Regions from separate parts of the Homo sapiens genome. Here region 1 is linked to region 2. Evidence: promoter capture Hi-C in human tissues and cell types (Jung and others, 2019). All regions are on one chromosome and are shown on one strand. The core of a region is centred on a gene start or on the middle of the fragment in contact, and the rest is flanking DNA. Distances in the headings are between cores, read along the strand shown. Region 1 has its middle 1.1 Mb from the start of LINC01950. Region 2 holds the start of EFNA5 (ephrin A5).

Region 1 (5,588 bases), core at 3,004-5,503, 1.7 Mb before region 2:
GCCCCAACTCCCTCGTGTTGGCCAATACAAATATTATTATTGGTTCTATTAATCAGTTACAGTTTTTGACTCTGTGACCTTCCAATGGCAGTATATTTCCACAATGGCTGTGTGAAGTATTTCCTTCTATTTGCTCAAATGCATTTGATGTTAATTTATTCTAAGGCTTTCATGCATACTTTGTTAAAAACAGTACAGAAACAATATGGATCAATTCTTGCTACATCTTTCTTAAACCCTCATAACTCATTCAATTTCCATTTAATTTCCTATTTCTGGAAAACAGAAAAACACTATCTTTCTAACATATTTCTATACCTCCTTTCTCATAAATGTCAGTATGAGTACTGACCTTTTCAGGATACTTTTGGCCTGATGACATATTCCTTATCTGAAATCACCAAATTAAAAGCAATATATTGAGTTTTTGTTAGTTTTTATACTATGTTCAAGTTTATTTTTATACACTGTAGTGTATGTATAACATCCATGACACACTGTATCAAGCTACCCAAGCATGTTTTTTTCATCTTTAGATATCAGAATTAAATTGTAAAACAAAATTACTAAATTATTTTTACCAATGCATCTCTATATTTAACTGAAATTTTATATTATGATGCTGGGCCATGCTGTTGGCTTTGTCTGGATTTTCTCATGAACTCATATACAAGCAGTTTTTAACTAGTACAAACAACTTAATAGTATCAGCCACCCTCATTTATTTACTATCTACATCCTCCTTTAAATCATTAATTTGTACAAACATCTGGATAAATTTTGAGTAGTTTCTCATATTTCTCAGAGATAACATTTCTAGACATGGAGGGACAGAATAAAAGAGACTGCAAATTTCCACACACATGCATCTAAGTCTACATAGCAACTGGCGTTGATACATGATCACTTGGCACTGCTCAAAATAGTGATAATAAAAAGCAAGTAAATCACTAATTTGCACATACTTAAGCTCACCATATTTCAGAATGAATCTACATGTGTGGTTTTAAAAATATGTTTATAAATATAGGGAATACTTTTGTACTTTTTAATGTAAACACATTTCAACAAATTTTATGAATGATAAGTGTGATATCAACAGGGCTCAAAGTGTGTACGGTGAAAACACTTATTTTTTACAAAATTTTTAGAAAAAAAGAATAAAATTATGTAGATTCCCTATTAAAATGCACTTTGCTCATGCAGTTTTCTTTTCCTTTTGAAAAGGGCTTGCAGTATACCCACCATTTAAAATTTCTTTATACAGACATTTTGTGGTCAATTGTGATACTTTTATCTGTGGCATGTGTATTATTTTTGAGAAGATAGTTATTAAAACTTCAGTCCTGGATACTTCTAAAGTTCCACCCACATGTGTTTTGGTCCGTTTTTACACTGCTAATAAAGACATACCTGAGACTGGGTAATTTATAGAGAAAAAGAGGTTTAATGGACTCACAGTACCACATCGCTGGGGAGGCCTCACAATCATGGCAGAAAGCAAAAGGCACATCTTACATGGTGGCAGGCAAGAGAGAAATGAGAACCAAGTGAAAAGGGTTTCCCCTTATAAAACCATCAGATCTCGCGAGATGTATTCACTACCACAAGAACAGTATGGGGGAAACCACCCACATTATTCAGTTATCTCCCACTGGGTCTCTTCTACAACACATGGGAATTATGGGAGCTACAAGTCAAGATAAGAGTTGGGTGGGGACACAAACCATATCAACATGCATGCACGCATACACATCTTTGAAGGTAGAGTATGTGAATTTGATGCTGGAGTATGTTGATGGTATAGTAAAAAGTCATGGGTAGGCGTGTTATAAGCAACTAACATTTGTTAGTATGTGGACTGTGCCTATCAAAATGACTCCATAATTACTGTGTGCTTTGTGAAATTTAGCATAGTTGCAAATTATCTAAGCTTTGACATAGCTTGAGAATGAAAAGATAATTTTGAAAACCAATTTTATAAAATGTATAAAATTATGAAATTTTCATGGTGAAATTGTATGCTTTCAAGAATCACAAAGGATAAAACATGATTCTATAACTTTATTATGATTTCCTGTCTTTACATCTACCACAGTGTCTCAGCAAATAATGTACTCAAAAGTATTTGTTGAATAAAACACTAAAATGACTCAAGGAGAGAAGGCAGCTGTCTGTGAGACAGGACATTTTCAGATTAAAGTTACAAATGCAATGGAAAATAATCTTGACAATACCCATGAAATCAGGCCACAATGGTATAAGTAAAAGAATTATAGATTATTTTATGATTTTTGCTTTTGTTCTCTTTCCTTCTCCATGGCTGAGACACCTAAGACGTTTGAAATAATTATCCACATAGCAGTCCTAACACTCCAACAACAGAGGAAGATATCCTTATTACCATGCTGCCCTTTAAAAATCAAAAAAGGACACAATTTCCCCTTAATCACTCAAATAGAAGGCCACTCAAAGAAAGACAAAAAATTAAAACAAAATAGAAAATAGTATGCCCAGTATACATCAGTGACATAATATGTGTAAATAGATTAAAATTAAAAATTAAAAGTCAAAATATCTCTGTAGGAGGAAGCAAAAAGCAGTATTGATTTATGTATTACTTAAAAGAGATATGTTTAAAAAGACCCAAAAGGGTTGAAAATACAAAAGAACAAAATTTTATAAGTGAATTGTAAGCAAAAGCAATTATAAAAATGCAACAAAATAGTTTTCTCTGTATTATTATCTCCCATCCTATTATATCCTCAGGTAGCCTTATCTAGGTAAGAAAGTTATAATTTTAGTTATTTCAATGAGCTTGAACTTAATGGAAATGATGAAACAGTAAACTTTCACAATATTTTTAAGTGCACTTAATAGTAAATCTTCAACTTGATTTCTCTCAATTGGAGTACCATGTGAAGGTTTGTTACATGGATAGAGGTTTGTACTTAGATTGGATCTGGTAGCCAAATATTGAACATAGTACCAAATTGGTAGTTTTTCAATTCTTACCTCCCTTACTCTCTCTCCCCTTCTGGAGTCCCCATTGTCTGTTTTTCCTATCTTTGTGTCCATGTGTACCCAATATTTAGCTTCCACTTATAAGTGAGAACATGCAGTATTTGGTTTTCTGTTTCAGTGGTAATTTGTGTAGGATAAGGGCTTCCAGCTGCATCCACATTGCTGCAAAAACATGAGTTCGTTCTTTTTTATGGCTGCATAGTATTCAGTGGTGTATATAGACCACATTTCCTTTATCTAATTCTCCCACTGATGGGCACCTAAGATGATTGTATGTCTTTACTATTGTGAATAATGCTGTGATAAACATGTGAATACAGGGGTCTTTTTGGTAAAATGATTTAATTTCCCTTGGGTGTATGTTCAAGACTGCAATTGCTCGGTGGAATGGTAATTCTATTTTTGGTTCTTTGAGAAATCTCCTAACTGCTTTCTATAGGGGTGAACTAATTTACAGTCTCACCAACCGCATATAAGCTTTCCATTTTCTCTGTAACCTCACCAACCAACATCTGTTATTTTTTGACTTTTTAAGAGTAGCTGTTCTGGGCCGGACTCAGCGGCTTATGCCTGTAATCCCAGCACTTTGGGAGGCCGAGGCGGGTAGATCACCTGAGGTCAGGAGTTCAAGACCAGCCTGACCAACATGGAAGAAACCCCATCTCTACTAAAAATAAAAAATTAGCCAGGCGTGGCGGCTCATGGCCGTAATCCCAGCTACTCAGGAGGCCGAGGCAGGAGAATCGCTTGAACCTGGGAGGTGGAGGTTGTGGTGAGCCAAGATCATGCCATTGCACTCCAGCCTGGGCAATAAGAACAAAACTCCATCTCAAAAAAAAAAGAAAGAAAAGATAAGAGTAACTGTTCAGACTGGTGTGAGATGGTATCTCATACCTTTCAAAATAACTTTTAAGTGAATTTTACTTCAAATTTGCCTTTTTAATTAGTATTTTTGATAGTAAATACTTTACTGTGATTTAATCTTATTTAAATTTAAAAAATAATAAACATGCTATACTTGCACTTTGTAATACTTGCAGTTGTCATTTACCTATGCTATGTCACAAATATATAATTTATTGTAATTTCTGGTTTAAATTAGTTTTTAAACTTGGAGAAATTTACATTAGAGGAAATTCAAATTACTAAAACAGAGCTAATCAAATTAAACCTTACAAGTAAGCAACAAAATACATACTAAAAAATCAAATTGCATCCCTTACAAGCAGAAGTGAAAAGGACAACACAAATTATACAATGCTCATTTTTCAAGAATGTGTAAACAAACTGACACTGCTTGTAGTAGAATTACGATTTGGTTCACTGTGAAGGGTAATTTGGGCAATACTCTTGATTCAGCAATTTTTCTAGAACTATATAGCCTGAGGAAATGATTTTATACAGTTGTATATAAAAGAAAGCATGCAGAAGCATTGCTTATAATTTAGAAAAAATATAAATGAATTTTTGAGCAACAACTAAGGAATCTGTAAAATTATGGTATATATATTTATAAAAGCAAACACTGCTATCTAAAATAATGAATGGTTATGTTGGGATGGAAACATTTTAATGAAATTATTGGTAAAACAGATAAGATAAAATATATCATGCTTTCGACATGTATGCTATTCACAAATCTTTCTCTTCCTGAGACACATGGTAGAATTCACCTTTATTATTCACTTGAAGTAGGTTATGTGACTTGATATATCCAATTGAGCATACACAGAAGTGATAATATGTGTCCCTTCCAGACAGATGATTAAAAACAGCACATACTTTACCACCCTTTCTTTCTCTCTTTCCAGGAAATAATGGGCATTCTGTCAGGTTGGATCCCAGAGTAAGGACACATACATTAACAACAACTTTCAAAATGACTAATGATGCACATGTAGCCTAGACAGAGCATTGCCTTTTGGTCTTTTAAGCAACTGAAATGTAATTCTTACCATAGATATCCTAGTCAATCTGGAGAGTAATGTCATATATGTAAGAAATAGAATTGTTAAGGTCAATCTCTTACTTTTGTGGGTTATTAGCATTATTATAGAATTAGAAATAAATTTGAAATAACATTAAATTTTCAAAATCTTAAAAAATGTGCATCCATATCTGCATTTTAAGATTTATAACATTTCGCATTTTTTTCAAGGCATTGGGTGTAGAAGAATCTGGCTATAGTATAATTAGACTATGGAATTCTATAAATACAAAGATAAAGAGAATATCAGAAAACTCTACCTCTGTGGTTAACACAGGGAAGGAATTTGGAGGAGCCTAAAGATCTATCTACCTAAAATCTATTAATCATCTACTTATATATCTATGTATACACTTTTACAGGAAGCTAAAACATACCAAACAGGTCATGTAGTGACTCACATCATGGGGATGTAATGAAATATTAATATTATCATCTGAGCCATATTATCACTGGCAAATTGTATGTTGTTTAAATTACCTCAATGTCCACAAAGAGCTACAGTATAATTACTGTAGGGGTAAGGCACATGGACGTACCATAAAATAATAATACTTTTTTTGTTGTTGAGAGTTTA
Region 2 (5,570 bases), core at 306-2,805:
AGACCGGCACACAGCTGGAAGCTAGCCTCTGTCCCAGAGAAAGCAGTGCGGTATGGGCCTAGCGGGGCCGACTTCTGTGCACAGGCCGGGAAGCAATAAAGGTTCGGAACTGCTCCAGACCCGGAGGACCCCGCCGGGCACTCTGGATAACCTCCCCACTCCACTTCCAGGGTCCGAAAACACGGGACGTCTGCGACTGGCCGGTGTCCAGCACGCGCACTAGGACCGCCCCCGGCGCCCACCTCTAGTCTCCCGCATACCCGGCGGGCTTCGGGACGCCTACAAATCGGTTCCAGGTAATCGCGCGCGTTCCTCCGGCAGCACATCGCCAGGCCGCGGGCGAAGGGCTCCCACCTCCTGGCTCGGCCAACTCTGGCAGCTTGTTCTGCACACATGACGTAACCCGGCATTAGATCAAACTTTCTGGCACCTTGAACCCACTGGGGTGGGTGGAGGGATGGAGAAGATGGGAGAATCCTCTCCACTGCCAGGCGCGCCGGGCCCAGACTGACTCAGGGGCCGAATGATTTCCTCGCAGTTGAAGAGGAAAATAAAAACCTAAAGCTTCCGCTTCCCAGCCCCCCTCACTTCCCCCAGCCCGTGCGCTCTCTCTGCGCGCACCGGGAAAAGAGAAGGGAAAATTAAAATTAAAAAAAAAAAAAAAAAAAAAAAAACTTTGGGGGATGTTTGGCGGGTTCTCTCCGCAGTCCCTGCGGACCCACGCTCCAGGAAGGAGCTCCCGGCTGCGCACACTGGGGGCTCCCCGCGCCGGGAACCGGATGCCAGCCAGATGCCGGGGCTGGGAAGCAGAGAAGTCCCTACTCCCCGGCTCCCGCCCTTTTCCGAGTCTCCCGGCGCCCCGCAGAAGCAGTTGGTCTAGGCAGCCCCGGGGACTCCCAGGGGTACCTGGCCTTTCCGCGGCGGCTTAACAAAGAGGGGCGCGACGCGAGCGCTTCCCGCCGACGCCTCAAGCCATCAGCGCCCGGGCGACGCAGGCTCCGAGGGTGCGCGCCGCCAGCGGTTGGTGCGCGCCGATCCCCGCCGCCGCTCCTTCCGCAGGGCCCCGAGGCCCGGGTAGCCCTGGCTCTCCGCCTGTTATCGGCTTACCTGGGGTTGCTGCTGTTCCAGTAGACAGCGTAGCGGTCGGCGACGGCCTTGGAGCCCGGGTCCTGGCTGAACACACACATCCAGAGCACCAGAAACACCAGCGTCAACATCTCCACGTGCAACATCACGCCTGGCCAGCGGCGGAGCCCCCGACGCGCCACTCCGGGGAGAGAGCGGGGATCCGGAGGGAGGGAGGCAGGCAAAGGGACAGAGAGAGAGCGGGCGCCAAATAAATATGAATAAATAAAAATGAAAGTGGGCGAGAAAGGAAAGAGGCGCCCACCAAGCTGGGGAGGGGTAGGAGAGCGAGAAGAAAAGAAGGCGGTGGGATGGGGGGTGATAAAGACAAACTCGCACCCCCACTGGAGGGTTCAGGAGGAAAAAGGAATCACAAGATGGAGAGAAGCGTGCGTGTGTGTGGTGGCGGCGGCGAGGGCGGGGGAAGAGGTGCCAAGCTGTGTCTCGGGCGGCGGCGGCAGGCCGGTCACCCCGGGAGAGGGAGGTGCGCGCCGGGCCGGGCGGCTGCAGCGCGGGTCGGGGCAGGCGGCGGCGCGCGCTGCACAGTCACCGGGAGTTGCGCGCCGCAGCCGCGGGGAGACATACACCGGCCCGCCGGGCCCGGCTCAGCGTCGGCGCAGCAGGCTACGCACGGCTCCGCCACCGCCCGGGGCCCTCGCACTGCGCCACGCTTCGCTCCAAGTTACTTTGGCGGCCGGTGGGAAACTGCAGGAGAAGGGCGACGTGCTGATAGAGGGCTTCGCGCTTGTGGTCCCGGGAGTCTGAGAACCCCTTTCCTCAGCCTCCTCTGTGCCTTAGCGGGGCGACCCCCAGAAATCTCAGAGGAGTCGTAAGTGCTGCGGTACCGGGCGGTGCGCCGAGAAGGGTGGGGATCCGGAGCCGCAACCCAGCCTTGTCGGTGTCCTGGAACTGGTTAAGCGGCAGCTGCGCCGGCTTTCGAAGCGGTCTTGCCTCGAAAACCTCAAAGAAAAGTTTGGCTCTTCGCGTCTTCCGGCAGGTCCCCCAGCAGAGTCGGAACGCGGCGGTAGCGGAAGAGGGCACCCCGGGGGCTGGCCGAGCCTCGGGGATTTCTCGCGCGTGCTTTCCTTGGCTGGGTGTGGGTGCACCACAGTGAATGAAGAGCAGAGGTTAAGACCAGCCGGCCTGGCAGAGCTGGGATTCCTAAACCTGCAAGACGACGCCAACCCAACTGTTCGGCTGGAGAGCGGGAGGGGAAACAATCACTTTCAAATGGATCCCTCCAACTCCTGGATGGGCCGATGTCAGTCTCCGATCGCCTTCCGAGAGGGAGACTGAGCCCCCACACGCGGTGCCAAGAGCCCGGGGTGAGCTCTCAGAAGTGTCCCTGCGACTCCAGCGGGTCCAAGCCTAGCAACTTGTAGAGATGCATCAATCAGTTTGAAATGGGAAAAGAGGAAAAAAAAAAAGCGCACGAGCGAGTGGCACCTCCCCGATGACTACATCAGAAAACCTTCCCGATCCTCCCGCAGCTGCTCCTCTTTCCCTCCTTAGGCACAGCAGCAACAGAGGTGAAAACCACAAACCGAATCCTAAAACCCCTACCCAGGCGGGAAAATAAATAAACTTGAGTGCAGCAGCAGCAGCACGAGCAGCCCAGGAGGAATTGAAACGACTGGCAAGAAGTGGAAAGGGTTTTGTAAAAGTCAGTTTTGCAAAAGAGGGGGAAAAAAAGAGAGCGAGAGAAAAAATGCTTTATGGGAAAAAAAATCTCCTCGGGCACGCCCCCTCGTTAATGACTTGCGTGGAAAGCCGACAGCGGCGGCGACCCAGTGGCAGCAGCCTCAGCAGAGCGCGAGGCCGCACGCGTGAACGTGGACGTGGGCGGGGGGATGGGGCTCCGCCCGGGCGTGTTGCGCGGGACGCGGGACGGGCGGGCGGCGCGAGCGCGGGTGTGAGCTCCGGACGAAGCAGGGGGAGGTGCCGCCAGCCCGCGCCCAGCCAGCGCTGCTGCCGCTGCGGCCCGGGTCATGTGGACTGTCTTTTTTTTTTTTTTTTTTTTTTTCCTCCTTCCAAGCAGTTTACTTGGGAAGGGTGGGAGCGCGGTGGGGGGATAGCTGGAGCAACCAGTCAGGGAACGGCCTACTGTTTGCTTACAGATTGGGGGTTTTTCCTCTCTCTTTACTCCAACCGGATTGGTTTGCTCCACGAGAAAGAGGCGTTTTCCTAATCTCCCTTCCCCACGCCTCCTACCCCCTCCCCCGCCCCACCTTCTAGAAACCTGACTAATTGAATTACTGGGAGTGCCGAGGCGCCCTCTCCTGCGCCGGAGCCCGGCAGCCACGTGTAACCCTTTGGGTGCTGAATTCCGTCTGGGCTAAGGAATGATTTGACATCTTTTTACCTGGGAGTAGGGTCTTTCGATTTTAAAGGAACCTGTGCCCACCCTTTGGCTGGAGAGCCGGCATCTGTCTCTGGTGCCCCGCAGGTGACGGATGGGCTGGAACGGAGCCTCAGGGAGTGCGCGTTCCTGTCCATTCCACCCGCTCTCCACGCCGCACGCTGCCTGGCGCTGGGTTATCTGGAAGTCTGAGCACCCCTCCTGTGCCTTTCAGCCCTCCTCTTCCCACTTGGGATTTAAAGATTCTTGGGCAGGAAGCAAGTTTTCTTTAAAGTGATGCTCTGAAAACACGTTTTTAAAAATCAGGCAAATCACAGTTTAAAGTGATTACAATTCAGCGCGAACCTTCCACAGAGAGGAAATGAATGCGGCAGACGAGCCCTTCAGAAATAACCTCACACCTCTTCCATTTCAACCTTGAGGGTGATTTGCTGCCCACTCCCCAAAGAATAAACGCCTTTATCGAACCCGGTGCGGAAAGAAATGAGGGCCGGGGGCGGGGGCTGTGGGAAGAAAAGCAGTTCCTTTATTGTTGGAAAAGGCCCCTCGGTCCTGGACTTCAAGGGCAGGTTGCAAGCCTGGTCTTCAGCCGCCACTGAAGAGCGATCTCCTGGCAGCGAGACTGTCCCAGCGCCTCGGGACGCGTCCCCACTGTCGTCCAGCGCCCAGGAAGTGAGCCCGACGCCTGCTCTGCGGGGCCACAGGCCCCCGAGACCCGCCCTTAAGGGGTCCGCGGGCTCGGGAGCAGCGGTATTTTTTCTCATGTTCCCTAGGGAGTTTTCTGCCTTAGTGGGAAGGGCAGATCCCCAGGAGAAAAAAGGCAGTTTACTTTTGCTCCCACACCTGCCTGCACTCCTTTTTACTTATTAGCCCAATAAAATCAAATCTCACGTTCACCCTCCTGCGCTTTCCAGTCCTCAGACGGGATTTCCAGGCGCTTCAGAGCTGTTTAGAAGCGTCCAGACGCCCTCCAGTGGTGGGCCTGCAATCCGCACCCAGCAGGGGCATTGCCTGCCGCTCAGGCCGGGTTGAATTTGATGGGAAATCTAGGGCTATGACCAATAAAGACTCGAGAGGAAAAGAAACAGTTCATAGGGGCACGGAGGTACCTGGATGTTATGGGCTCTTGGCTAAAAGTTAAGTCGTTTTTCAATTACAGTAATATTTCCTATCTGAAAAGATCCTGAAATCGTCCTAGGAAAGTAACTTATATTTTGTGACTAGATACAAATTGCAATCTGTACAATAATGGACTTTACCACAAACCAACCATCTGCCTAATTATTAAAAATTGAAATTCAGAATGTCGACACAAATGCTCCTCCATCATCTGTATGTTTCACAAAGTTCCAGCAGTGAGAAAGAAGTGGGGAAAGAAGTGAGAGAACCAATGGATAAGCTTTTATTTTTCAAATCAAATTTTCAGTTAAAATGTTATTTGCTTTTTTCCCTGGTCTGTAATCTTGCTGATGTTCAAGTTCTTGGCCCATTTTAGGGTGTGTGTTTTTTCTGTTGCAGGAAAGATGGATTTGTTTCCTTAGCTTTTCTTATAGTGGCTCTAATAGGTGCTCATATGACAGAGACAGTTTTGCAGGAAATATTCTGGACCCTTTTAAGAGATATGTGTATCTTTAAAAAGAAAATTCACGACTCCTGTCTAGGGTAAAATGCTGATCCTCACTGAAGAGTCTTTTTAGTCAGGGAACTATCAGGTAACAGGGAGCTAGCAAGCTGGCTTCCTGTGGCATCAAAGCTGAAAAAAAGGTGAAGAAAAAGAAATGGTATCCACTCATTTCCCGTTTGAAACACATACAATAACCAAATGGGAAAATTCAATTATATCACAAAAATATGGATGTCCTTATATTTAAATATCTCTACTATTTAAAGTTTGAATAGTCCCATATTAAACAGAAAAAAAAGTATACATTGTCCTCTTCCATAAAGTGATTCATAAGATTGGAATAAGATGTTGAAATTCGCGGCTGTTCATAACATAACTCAAATGTCTATGTGAAACAATTCATAAACCTAAATCAAATGACTCTGGGATTATGTGCCTAAGTAATTATTGGTATGGAAGTTA

Evidence for each region. Contacts are between HindIII fragments. The study calls those that stand out against the background at their distance.
Region 1: a fragment that was not itself captured here is called in contact with the fragment with the promoter of EFNA5 in region 2 in 1 of the 25 tissues and cell types used here (IMR-90 fibroblasts).

What each region holds. Positions count from the first base shown.
Region 1 is chr5:105,917,403-105,922,990 of GRCh38, forward strand. No RefSeq gene overlaps it. Among named protein-coding and RNA genes, the nearest start is that of LINC01950, 1.1 Mb to the right of the region's middle. The HindIII fragment of the contact is 3,072 bases long and covers 2,718-5,588 here.
Region 2 is chr5:107,669,382-107,674,951 of GRCh38, forward strand. It overlaps EFNA5 (ephrin A5), which reads right to left and starts at 1,556. Exons shown (of 5, transcript NM_001962.3): 1 at 1,108-1,556. The coding sequence starts at 1,232. RefSeq lists enhancers at 709-788, 1,189-1,318, 2,029-2,168, 3,909-4,408, 4,310-4,359 and silencers at 949-1,018, 1,589-1,638, 2,999-3,068, 4,440-4,519. The HindIII fragment of the contact is 6,025 bases long and covers 1-5,570 here.